2 separate regions of the Homo sapiens genome follow, and region 2 is linked to region 1. Evidence: promoter capture Hi-C in human tissues and cell types (Jung and others, 2019). All regions are on one chromosome and are shown on one strand. Each heading gives the region's core, a stretch centred on a gene start or on the middle of the fragment in contact. The rest is flanking DNA. Distances are from core to core; before and after follow the strand shown.

The links. Contacts are between HindIII fragments. The study calls those that stand out against the background at their distance.
Region 2: a contact is called between the fragment with the promoter of SLC25A45 here and the fragment with the promoter of FAU in region 1, in 1 of the 25 tissues and cell types used here (dorsolateral prefrontal cortex).

Annotation. Positions count from the first base shown.
Region 1 is chr11:65,118,715-65,124,292 of GRCh38, reverse strand. FAU (FAU ubiquitin like and ribosomal protein S30 fusion) reads left to right here and starts at 2,159. Exons shown (of 5, transcript NM_001997.5): 1 at 2,159-2,203; 2 at 2,472-2,554; 3 at 2,649-2,793; 4 at 3,257-3,312; 5 at 3,487-3,663. The coding sequence starts at 2,480. The coding sequence ends at 3,612. It overlaps MRPL49 (mitochondrial ribosomal protein L49), which reads right to left and starts at 1,972. Exons shown (of 4, transcript NM_004927.4): 1 at 1,869-1,972. The coding sequence starts at 1,946. RefSeq lists enhancers at 1,682-1,951, 2,112-2,201. The HindIII fragment of the contact is 8,684 bases long and covers 1-2,587 here.
Region 2 is chr11:65,378,605-65,384,376 of GRCh38, reverse strand. SLC25A45 (solute carrier family 25 member 45) reads left to right here and starts at 1,731. Exons shown (of 7, transcript NM_182556.4): 1 at 1,731-1,891; 2 at 2,408-2,462; 3 at 4,202-4,245; 4 at 4,439-4,510; 5 at 4,816-5,001. The coding sequence starts at 2,426. It also overlaps a transcript of FRMD8 not described here. RefSeq lists a silencer at 305-599 and enhancers at 511-1,037, 1,366-1,565, 1,576-1,885, 1,785-2,079, 1,566-2,093 and 4 more. The HindIII fragment of the contact is 21,887 bases long and covers 1-5,772 here.

The DNA.
Region 1 (5,578 bases), core at 910-3,409:
AGAGTTCTTGGGCACAAATACTTAATAACAAGAACTACCACAAAAGACTGCAAAAACCACAGCCTTGCACAAAGGCCACTTCAACCTTACACAAAAAAATATTTCTGGCTGGGCAAGGTGGCTCACGCCTGTAATCCCAGCACCTTGGAGGCTGAGGCAGGAGGATCATCTAAGGTCAGGAGTTCAACACCAGCCTGGCCAACATGGCGAAACCCCATCTCTACTGAAAATACAAAAATTAGCCGGGCATGGTGGTGCATGCCTGTAATCCCAGCTACTTGGGAGGCTGAGGCAGGAGAATTGCTTGAACCCAGGAGGTGGAGGTTGCAGTGAGCTAAGATCGCACCATTGCACTCCAGCCTCGGTGACAGAGCGACGAGACTCTCTCAAACAAAACAAAACAAAACAAATTCCTGCATGGCCATCTGTCCAACAACTGCCTGTCCAATCTTGAACTGGCACCACCCATGTTATTCATCCTTGTAGCCAAGGATAACTGTCTCAAAACAATTATGTAATACTCATTTTTCCTTTCCTTTATTTATTTTTATTATTTTTTTAGATAGAGTCTCACTCTGTCACCTAGGCTGGAGTGCAGTGGTGTGATCTCGGCTCACTGCAACCTCCGCCTCCCAAGTTCAAGCAAGTCTCCTACCTCAGCCTCCCAAGTAGCTGGGACTACAGGCACACGCCATCACACCCGGCTAATTTTTGTATTTTTTCTAGAGACGGGTTTCACCATGTTGGCCAGGCTTGTCTCAAACTCCTGACTCCAGGTGATCTACGCGCCTTGGCCTCCCAAAGTGCTGGGATTACAGGCGTGAGCCACCGTGCCTGGCCCATTTTTCTGTTAAAAACCTTTGTCTTCTTTTACCTCCCTGATAAGCACATAGTCTATACCCATTCCCGAATAAATATCCTTTTCTTTTAGAGTCTGTTATTTAGGTTGACATAAGATAGCACCAGTCTTTGGTTTTCCATGGTGCAGGGTACAGATGGGATGGAAAGGAGGCTCAGGTACTCTGAATGGTCTGCCTCTCAGGATTTCTGTGGGATGCAAAAGAGTATATGTACACTTCTGAAAAGTCAATCAAGCCTTTAGAAACTTAAGGCTTAACTTTCTGTCTCGGTTTTAGAAATAGATATTATTATATTGGCAGCGTGGCCTTGTTTGTACCTCCATGATTGCCTGGCTGGCCTTGCTAACCTAATCACATCTGTGACGGGATATAGTGATGTTTAATCTTATGATTGCCTTAAGAATTAAGGCAATCAGACGGGTTCGGCGGCTCATGCCTGTAATCCCAGCACTTTGGGAGGCCGAGGCGGGCGGATCACGAGGTCAGAAGATCCAGTCCATCCTGGCTAACAAGGTGAAACCCCGTCTCTACTAAAAATACAAAAAATTAGCCGGGCATGGTGGCGGGAGCCTGTAGTCCCAGCTACTCGGGAGGCTGAGGCAGGAGGATGGCGTGAATCTGGGAGGCGGAGCTTGCAGTGGGCCGAGATCGCGCCACTGCCCTCCAGCCTGGGCGACAGAGCGAGACTCCGTCTCAAAAAAAAAAAAAAAAAGAATTAAGGCAATCATAATTCCCCACGCACACTCATATGCTAGGACCCCGCCCCTTACCTGAAACGTTGTGGCTTATATAGACACTGCCAGGCACTGTGTTAAGTGCTCCCAAAGAGCACCCCAGTCTACCATTTTCCCTCTCGATTCTATATGTACACTCGGGACAAGTTCTCCTGATCGAAAACGGCAAAACTAAGGCCCCAAGTAGGAATGCCTTAGTTTTCGGGGTTAACAATGATTAACACTGAGCCTCACACCCACGCGATGCCCTCAGCTCCTCGCTCAGCGCTCTCACCAACAGCCGTAGCCCGCAGCCCCGCTGGACACCGGTTCTCCATCCCCGCAGCGTAGCCCGGAACATGGTAGCTGCCATCTTTACCTGCTACGCCAGCCTTCTGTGCGCGCAACTGTCTGGTCCCGCCCCGTCCTGCGCGAGCTGCCTGCCCAGGCAGGTTCGCCGGTGCGAGCGTAAAGGGGCGGAGCTAGGACTGCCTTGGGCGGTACAAATAGCAGGGAACCGCGCGGTCGCTCAGCAGTGACGTGACACGCAGCCCACGGTCTGTACTGACGCGCCCTCGCTTCTTCCTCTTTCTCGACTCCATCTTCGCGGTAGCTGGGACCGCCGTTCAGGTAAGAATGGGGCCTTGGCTGGATCCGAAGGGCTTGTAGCAGGTTGGCTGCGGGGTCAGAAGGCGCGGGGGGAACCGAAGAACGGGGCCTGCTCCGTGGCCCTGCTCCAGTCCCTATCCGAACTCCTTGGGAGGCCTGGCCTTCCCCACGTGAGCCGCCGCGACCACCATCCCGTCGCGATCGTTTCTGGACCGCTTTCCACTCCCAAATCTCCTTTATCCCAGAGCATTTCTTGGCTTCTCTTACAAGCCGTCTTTTCTTTACTCAGTCGCCAATATGCAGCTCTTTGTCCGCGCCCAGGAGCTACACACCTTCGAGGTGACCGGCCAGGAAACGGTCGCCCAGATCAAGGTAAGGCTGCTTGGTGCGCCCTGGGTTCCATTTTCTTGTGCTCTTCACTCTCGCGGCCCGAGGGAACGCTTACGAGCCTTATCTTTCCCTGTAGGCTCATGTAGCCTCACTGGAGGGCATTGCCCCGGAAGATCAAGTCGTGCTCCTGGCAGGCGCGCCCCTGGAGGATGAGGCCACTCTGGGCCAGTGCGGGGTGGAGGCCCTGACTACCCTGGAAGTAGCAGGCCGCATGCTTGGAGGTGAGTGAGAGAGGAATGTTCTTTGAAGTACCGGTAAGCGTCTAGTGAGTGTGGGGTGCATAGTCCTGACAGCTGAGTGTCACACCTATGGTAATAGAGTACTTCTCACTGTCTTCAGTTCAGAGTGATTCTTCCTGTTTACATCCCTCATGTTGAACACAGACGTCCATGGGAGACTGAGCCAGAGTGTAGTTGTATTTCAGTCACATCACGAGATCCTAGTCTGGTTATCAGCTTCCACACTAAAATTAGGTCAGACCAGGGCCCCCAAAGTGCTCTATAAAATTAGAAGCTGGAAGATCCTGAAATGAAACTTAAGATTTCAAGGTCAAATATCTGCAACTTTGTTCTCATTACCTATTGGGCGCAGCTTCTCTTTAAAGGCTTGAATTGAGAAAAGAGGGGTTCTGCTGGGTGGCACCTTCTTGCTCTTACCTGCTGGTGCCTTCCTTTCCCACTACAGGTAAAGTCCATGGTTCCCTGGCCCGTGCTGGAAAAGTGAGAGGTCAGACTCCTAAGGTGAGTGAGAGTATTAGTGGTCATGGTGTTAGGACTTTTTTTCCTTTCACAGCTAAACCAAGTCCCTGGGCTCTTACTCGGTTTGCCTTCTCCCTCCCTGGAGATGAGCCTGAGGGAAGGGATGCTAGGTGTGGAAGACAGGAACCAGGGCCTGATTAACCTTCCCTTCTCCAGGTGGCCAAACAGGAGAAGAAGAAGAAGAAGACAGGTCGGGCTAAGCGGCGGATGCAGTACAACCGGCGCTTTGTCAACGTTGTGCCCACCTTTGGCAAGAAGAAGGGCCCCAATGCCAACTCTTAAGTCTTTTGTAATTCTGGCTTTCTCTAATAAAAAAGCCACTTAGTTCAGTCATCGCATTGTTTCATCTTTACTTGCAAGGCCTCAGGGAGAGGTGTGCTTCTCGGGTTGGTGGTATGTCCCCTAGGAGAACAGTGAGGCAGAAAAGGCAGAAGCCTTTGGTATGGGGGGAAGAAATGGTAAACTACAAGAGAAATTTCCTGTGAAGAAACAGCTACAGATCCTGGGGGGCTTCAGATGTAAAATTGGGGTTATTCCCTATCCTAAGTAACTTGATCAGTCCCCCCAGGTCATTCTTTTTCATCTTCTAAACAGAGAAGGTAGCAGGAATCACTGTGGTGAGAGGTTTGTTATGGAGGCAGCAATAGAAGGGATGGGTGGGGGAAGAGGTTTGTATAGAAGGTGAACCTGGCCGTTCCCTGAACTTGGTACCAGCTGTGGCCTTAGAGTCCAGGGCAGGAATCTGGTCTGCCTTGGTTTTAGAAGTAAATATTATGTTGGGAGCATGGCCTCGTTTGTACCTCTGTGACTGCCTGGCCGGACTTGGTAACCTAATCACATCTGTGATTGGATATAGTGAGGTTTCAGTGTTCCCAAAAGTTGGGTTACCTCTGGGGCTGATTCAGGGTTCTCTTCTGGCAACTGAGCCTCCCAGCACTTCTGAACCCCACTTACTCATTCAGCTAAAGTTTCTGGACCTGCCAGTTCTTGAGAAATAGCATCCAACAGGGTAAAGCCCTTGGGCTGTGGACTTTGACTGCCTGAGTTTGGACCTTCTTTTTCTTCCTACTCCATTTACTGGGTGGCTGGCCTTTGAACTAACTACTAATTTAATCTCTGCCATCTCCAGGGCTGCTGTGAGGGTTAAAGGATGTAAATCAACATCTGGCTTACAGTGAGTGTGTGAATCTTGGCTATTTTTGTCTCTGTGGTGTTAAAGACATGGTTTCTGCCTTCCAGCAGTTTAGAAAGGGGGAGGATGTGGACAGATACAATAGCATCCCAGAGAGGGCCTCTTTTTTTGTTTTTCTTTTTTCTTTATTTTATTTTATTGAGACAGAGTCTCGCACTGTCGCCAGGCTGGAGTGCAGTGGCACAATCCGAGCTCACTGCAACCTCAGCCTCCCGGGTTCACGCCATTCTCCTGCCTCAGCCCCCTGAGTAGCTGGGACTACAGGCATGTGCCACCACGCCCAGCTAATTTTTGTATTTTTAGTAGACATGGGGTTTCCCCATGTTGGCCAGGATGGTCTCGATCTCTTGACCTCGTGATCGCCCACCTCGGCCTCCCAAAGTACTGGGATTACAGCCATGAGCCACAGTGCCCGGCCTTTTCTTTTTTGTTTTTGAGACAAGGTCTCTCTCATCCAGGCTGGAGTGCAGTTGCACAATCATGGCTCACTGCAGCCGCCAACTCCTGGGCCCAGGTGATCCTACTCAGCCTCCAAAGTAGCTGAGGACTACAGGCATGCACCGCCACACCTGGCTAATTTTTTGTACTTTTTTGTAGAGACAGGGTTTTGCTATGTTGCCCAGGCTGGTCTTGAACTGGGCTCAAGTGATCCGCCCACCTTGGCCTCCCAAAGTGCTGAGATTACAGGTGTCAGCCGCTGTGCCCAGCCGAGAGGTCCTGTTTAAATGACGTGAGTGAGACCTGAGATGAACCAGTCAAGTGATCAGGTAGGGGAATATTTCAAGCCTAGAGGACTGTGTGAAGATGGGGAAGAGGTGATGTCTAGGGCTGGGGGCGGGCAGATCCTGCAAGGCCTTGTCAGCCATAGAGAGGAGTTTGGGTTTGAGTCCAAGTGCAATGGAGGGTCGCAGAAGGGTTTTGAGTAACAGATGGATCTCATCTGACTTGTGATCTAATTTCTCTGGCAGGTTTTTCTGGAGGGCTGGCAAGAAAGTTAGGAAAAACACTTAATGTGTTGTCATCCACATGAGGGGTCAGGAAGCTTAGACCACCAGT
Region 2 (5,772 bases), core at 482-2,981, 260 kb before region 1:
AGGCTGATGGTGGGGAAGGAAAGGCATTCCAGGTAGTGGGAACTGCACGAGCATGGTTAGGACCCCAGGAAAGACCCCCGCTGTGTGAGAGCATAGCAGGTGGGTGGCACCATGGGGGAGGCCTTGAACCCCAGGATGACAGATATGGGGCAGGCGTGTTAGACAGTAAGAACATTTTGGAGGTTGTGAGCTAGAGATTCACAAGATGACGCCATGCTTAGGTGGGCTTCCCTTCAGCAAGGCTGTAGGGAAGTGGGAATGAGGGTCTTTCTCAAACTGGGGTGAGGCGGTGAGATTGGAAAAGAGAATGAGACCCATTCTGAAGTGAGGGAGGAGGCGGCCTCCAGCCTTTAGAGCTGAGAGGCTTAGACATCAATTAGCCCGACTGCTGTCCTACTTTGGCAAACAATAATAGACCCCAAGGCCCACAGAAGAGGTTGCTCAACATCACTGAGAGAGATAATGTAACCGCCCATTGGGTTCACCTTACCCTCTGCCTAGACAGAGCCAATTTGTCAAGACAGGGGAATTGCAATAAGGAGAGTTTAATTCATGCAGAGCTGGCTGTACGAGAGACAGGAGGGTTTTTTTTTTGTTTGTTTGTTTGTTTTTTTTTTTTGAGACGGAGTCTCGCTCTGTTGCCCAGGCTGGAGTATAGTGGCATGATCTTGGCTCACTGCAACAGCTGCCTCTCGGGTTCAAGCGATTCTCCTGCCTCAGCATCCCAAGTAGCTGGGACTACAGGCGCCCGTCATCACACCCGGCTAATTTTTGTATTTTTGGTAGAGATGGGGTTTCACTATGTTGGTCAGGCTGGTCTCGAACTCCTGACCTCAGGTGGTCCTTCCGCCTCGGCCTCCCAAAGTGCTGGGATTACAGGCGTGAGCCACTGCGCCTGGCCTGTATCAGTTATAGTTTTTGCAAAGGCAGTTTCAGGAATAAGAAGCAGAACCAGGACTGCAGCCCAAGCCACCACGAGAGGCCAGTCTTTGGGGATGGTCTTTTAGGATGATCTTTGGGGGTGGCCCAAGGAGCCCCAGGCAGCTCCAGAGGCAGGAGGTAGGAGGTCCTGTTTCCCGAATCTGTCCACCCGGGAGAAAGCAGCAGGGGTGGGTGGGTTCTGCCTTGGCCACAGTGAGAGGAGAAGGGAGAGAAGGACTGGGCCTTGGGCGTCCCCCATGGGAGACTAGGAGCTGCGGGGAGATCTGGAGGGGAGGGTGCAGGTGTCACTGGGCCTTGATGTTTCCCAGGGCCGTTTGGTGATGGGAAGAGGGAACTGGAGCCCCAGGCTGCCGCTGATGCTGCTGGCTGACATTTCCGTTCATTCAGTCACTCAGGATTTATTGAGAGCCCACCCTGTGCCACCCGCTGTGCACAGAACACCCAGAGATCCCTGTCCAGACAGACAAGTTCTTCCCATCGTATGTTGGCGTGATAACTGTGATGGAGAAAGAGAGGAAGAGCCAGCAGTGCCTCCGGCTGGGGAGGCGGGGCAGACCTCACCCAGGTGGTGACATTTGAGCCCCAGCTGGAGGGGTGCCAGGGCAAGAGTGCCCAGGAAGAGGGAAGAGCCAGTCCACAGGCCTGGAGACAGAAGGCTGACTGAAGAAGAGTCTGGAGGCTCGGGTGGCTGCAGCAGAGAAAGCAAGGGGGTGGGTGGCAGGACGTGAGGTCAGAGGAGAATGGGCGGCACCCTGTGGCTCACAGATCCTTGAAAGGGTTTTGGTTTTGACTGAGCAGAATGGTGCCATTGCAGATCAACACGCACTTTAAATAATCAAAACCCCTATCTTTCCCCTGGGAAGGAGGAAGCCGAGGAAGGCTGTGTTTCTGACTCACACGGGGGAGTCGGGGGAGTCGTAAACAACCCTGAAGAGAACAGCCAGGCCTGGTGAGTCACTCCTGGGAGTGGCTCCTCCCCACCCTGCCACGCAGCGGCAAATGCGGGCTGGGCCTACCCCCTGGTGGCCACGCTACCTCCGCACCCGGCCTCTCTCTGTGGCATGGGGGCGGCCATGCCCCTTGGTGGAGATGAATGGGAGTGGAGCTGGGCTGGCTGGGCAGGCAGGGGCTTGCCTCTTGCTGACTAAGGCAGCCCTGGAGGGGCCCGACCATGGGGCAGGAACCCAGTTGCCATCCTCAGAGCGAGGATCATTGGCCGGGCTCGGGGATCAGGGCCTCTGTGGTCCCGGCACGCCTGGCCCGTGAGACTGTACTCTGCACGACTCCTCCAGGTGGCCAGGGTCACCGGAACTGGCTCGCTCTCCTCTGCCAGTTGCCGGAGGTCTGGGCACCAGGCCAATTCTCACCTTCCCGCCAGGGTTAAACATTAGTGGGAGGTTATCAGCGTGGGCCAGGGGAGGGAGAGGGGGGAATTCAACTCTGTCTCCTCTGCTGGAGCCACCAGTTCCCGCAAGCCCAGACAATGCCGGTGGAGGAATTTGTGGCTGGCTGGATCTCTGGTGAGACATTTTTCTTCCTTCTGTCACATCACACCCAATGGTAGGTCACTTCCTCGGGAAGATGGGTGACATGGGAGGAGCAGAGACCAAAGTCTGAGTTCCGGCCTGGCGGGAGGATCACTTGAGCCCAGGAGTTTGAGACCAGTCTGGGCAACATAGGGAGGCCCCTGTCTCTACAAAAAAATCAAAATAATTAGCTGGGCATGGTGGCTCACACCTGTAGTCCCAGCTACTTAGGAGGATTGCTTGAGCTCAGGAGTTCAAGGCTGCAGTGAGCTATGACTGCACCACTGCACTCCAGCCTGGGTGACAGAATGAGACCCTGCCACAAAAAAAAAAAAAAAAAAAAAAAAAGAATCAGGGCATGGTGGCTCACACCTGTAATCCCAGCACTTTGCGAGGCTGAGGTAGGAGGATCACTTGGGGCCAGGAGTTTGAGACCAGCCTGGGCAACATAGGAAGACCCTGTCTTTATAAGAAATGAGAGGCTGGGCGCGGTGGCTCATGCCTGTAAGCCCAGCACTTTGGGAGGCTGAGGTAGGTGGATCATGAGGTCAAGATTTCGAGACCAGGCTGGCCAACATGGTGAAACCCCGTCTCTACTAAAAATACAAAAATTAGCCAGGCGCGGTGGCGCACGCCTGTGGTCCCAACTACTCCAGAGGCTGAGGTGGAAGGAGCCCTTAAGCTCAGGAGGTTGAAGCTGCAATGAGCCATGATCATGCCACTGCACTCCAGCCTGGACAACACCAGCAAGACCCTGTGTCAAAAAAAAAAAGTCTGGGTTCCGTGGAGCACCCCAGAGCCAGCTGTCCCCAGTCCTCTGGGGAGTGGCCGATGGGAAGAAGAGAGGAAGGCACAGGTGGGAGGGTGCTGCCTCTGCCTTCCAAGGCCACTCTGCCTGACACCTGCAGAGGGCGGGAGAGCCAGGTGAGCACCCTATACCTTGAGCCCTGCTCTCCAGGCCCACCCTGTTGGGCTTACAAAGGAAGTTCACCTTTGACCTCACCTGCTGTCCTGAGTCCCCTCTGGGCCTCTGCCCCACCTGGCTGTGGGCCGCAGTCCCGGGCCCTGAGGCCTGTTGTGCTGTGGTCCCAGCCCAGCTTCTGGGTGGCATTCCTCTTAGGAGAAAGAGAGGGACGTTCTGAACCTGCCTCCTGGGGGTGCGACCTCCCCCAAACTCCAGAACCAGCCTCTGCTGTGGAGGGCAGGGCTAGGCAGTGGGCAGGTGGAGGGGAGGGGAGAAGCTCCTCTGCAGGTGCCCAGGCATGACCCCCATCAGGGCCCTGCAGTTCTGCGTGGCCAGCTGGCAGCAGGGCCTGCTCTGGATCCCGGCGACGACATTATGAGTTGAAGAAAGAAGAGTAAAGCTCTCGGAGAGGTGGGAACCTGGGTGATTCTCCCAGAGTCCCGCGGCTCATAGGCGGTGGGATACCCGGGTATGGGCTCCAGCGAGGACACGTACGTCTTTGGCTGGCTCTTCCCTCTTGGGTGTGCATCCTCAGGTGGGGCCTGGGGTCTTAGTCCCTTGTCCCAGTGCCTTCCTGGCCCAGTGCCTGTGTGGAGGGGGTGGCAGGGGCAGCTGGAGTCTCTAGAGCTTGGCAGGAAGGTGGCTGCATGTGTCTGAGATGGCCCTGCTCTCCTTCCTCCTGCCTGAACCCCTCTTTCCTCTTGGCACAGACTTGCTTCCTGGGCCTGGCACGAGGGCCCTCACTCATAGCACCCTCTTGTCACCACAGGCGCTCTGGGCTTGGTCCTGGGACACCCGTTTGACACTGTAAAGGTGAGTTTAGGAGAGCTGCCAGAGGAATGAAAGATCTCACCTGACCCAAATGTCAGGGTGCCCTGAGATCAGGCCTGGCTAATCTTGCCTTTCCTGCCTCTCCTGCTGGTTGGCATCCCGCTTGAGGGGGCAGAGGGAAAGGTTGGCCCACCTGCCCATCCCGCCACCCTACCTGCTCTGTCCTCCCACCCAGGTGAGGCTGCAGACCCAGACCACCTACCGGGGCATCGTTGATTGCATGGTCAAGATTTACCGCCATGAGTCCGTGAGTGGCCCACTCCTTTGGGGTCCTTCCCCTTTCGGGGAGGCATCTGGGGCTGTTGGTACCAGCTTCCCTCTCCAGCAGGGTTCTGCTCCTGGAGGAGAGAAGACCAAGTCTGGGATCCTTGGGGGGCCTGGGTGGTAGCTTAGCACCCCAGAGGCGCAGCCTCAGCCCATCCCTGCCTGTCCCCACTTCCCTGTGGCAGGACTTGGGAGCAGTTTCCAGCCAGAGGCTGCCTTGCCAGGGGTGGAGAGGACAAAGGGGAGGCCCCACGGTGCCTACTCCGCTGCCACTGTGTCTCTCTGCAGCTCCTGGGCTTCTTCAAGGGAATGAGCTTCCCCATTGCCAGCATAGCTGTGGTCAACTCTGTCCTGTTTGGGGTCTATAGCAACACCCTGCTGGTGCTCACGGCCACCTCCCACCAGGAGCGGCGGGCCCAGCCGCCCAGCTACATGCACATCTTCCTAGCGGGCTGCACCGGGGGGTTCCTGCAGGTGAGGGGGCAGTGAGTGGGCACACACAGGTGTCATAGGGATGGTCATCTCGATCTGTCCTCTCCCACCCTGCCCTGGCGACCCACAGCTGTGGAGGCATAGGCCTCTTGGAGGGGAACAAGAGGCCTGTGCTATGGCCTTCCAGGCTGCAGGCCTCTGGGGGAGGGCTGTGGGGAACAGAGGGGGCAAAAGGCAGAGACAGCTGGTGGGCAGTGCCAAGAGGGTGCTGGGAGAAGCAGCCTGGGCCACTCGCTCCAGCTGACGGGGCTTGCCCCCCTCCAGAGGGGTCTGCCAGCCTCAGAGCTGTGGGGAGCCCACTCCCCAAGGAGACCTTTGACCCTGGAGAACCACCAGCACCCCGCAGAGCTGTGAGCCCAGCCCCTCTGGCCGGGTCCTGATGAGGTCCTGACACTCCCCTGGCCCTGCCTGGCTCTACACTTTGCCTGCAGTGCTTGGGTGCCCATGACCTGGGAGCCTCACCTGAGGCCCAGCCCAGCAGGGCATTAACCATTCAGGCACTGCCGTCATCTGGGCTTTGGGCTTTAGAGGGGTGGATGGAGGGAAGAGGGACCAGCTGCCGCCAGTGGGAACCGGTGCTGAATGGGTCCTGTGAGCATAAGCAGGGAGAGGGTGCGCCCGGCACCCACTGACACCCCAGCCGCAAGCCAGGGTCGCCCTCTCCTGGGCAGCTGCCCCCAGTTCCTTGTCACACTTCATGGGGCAGAGAGCAAGGACAAAGGACAAAGTCAGGCTGCTCCTTCAAATGAATTA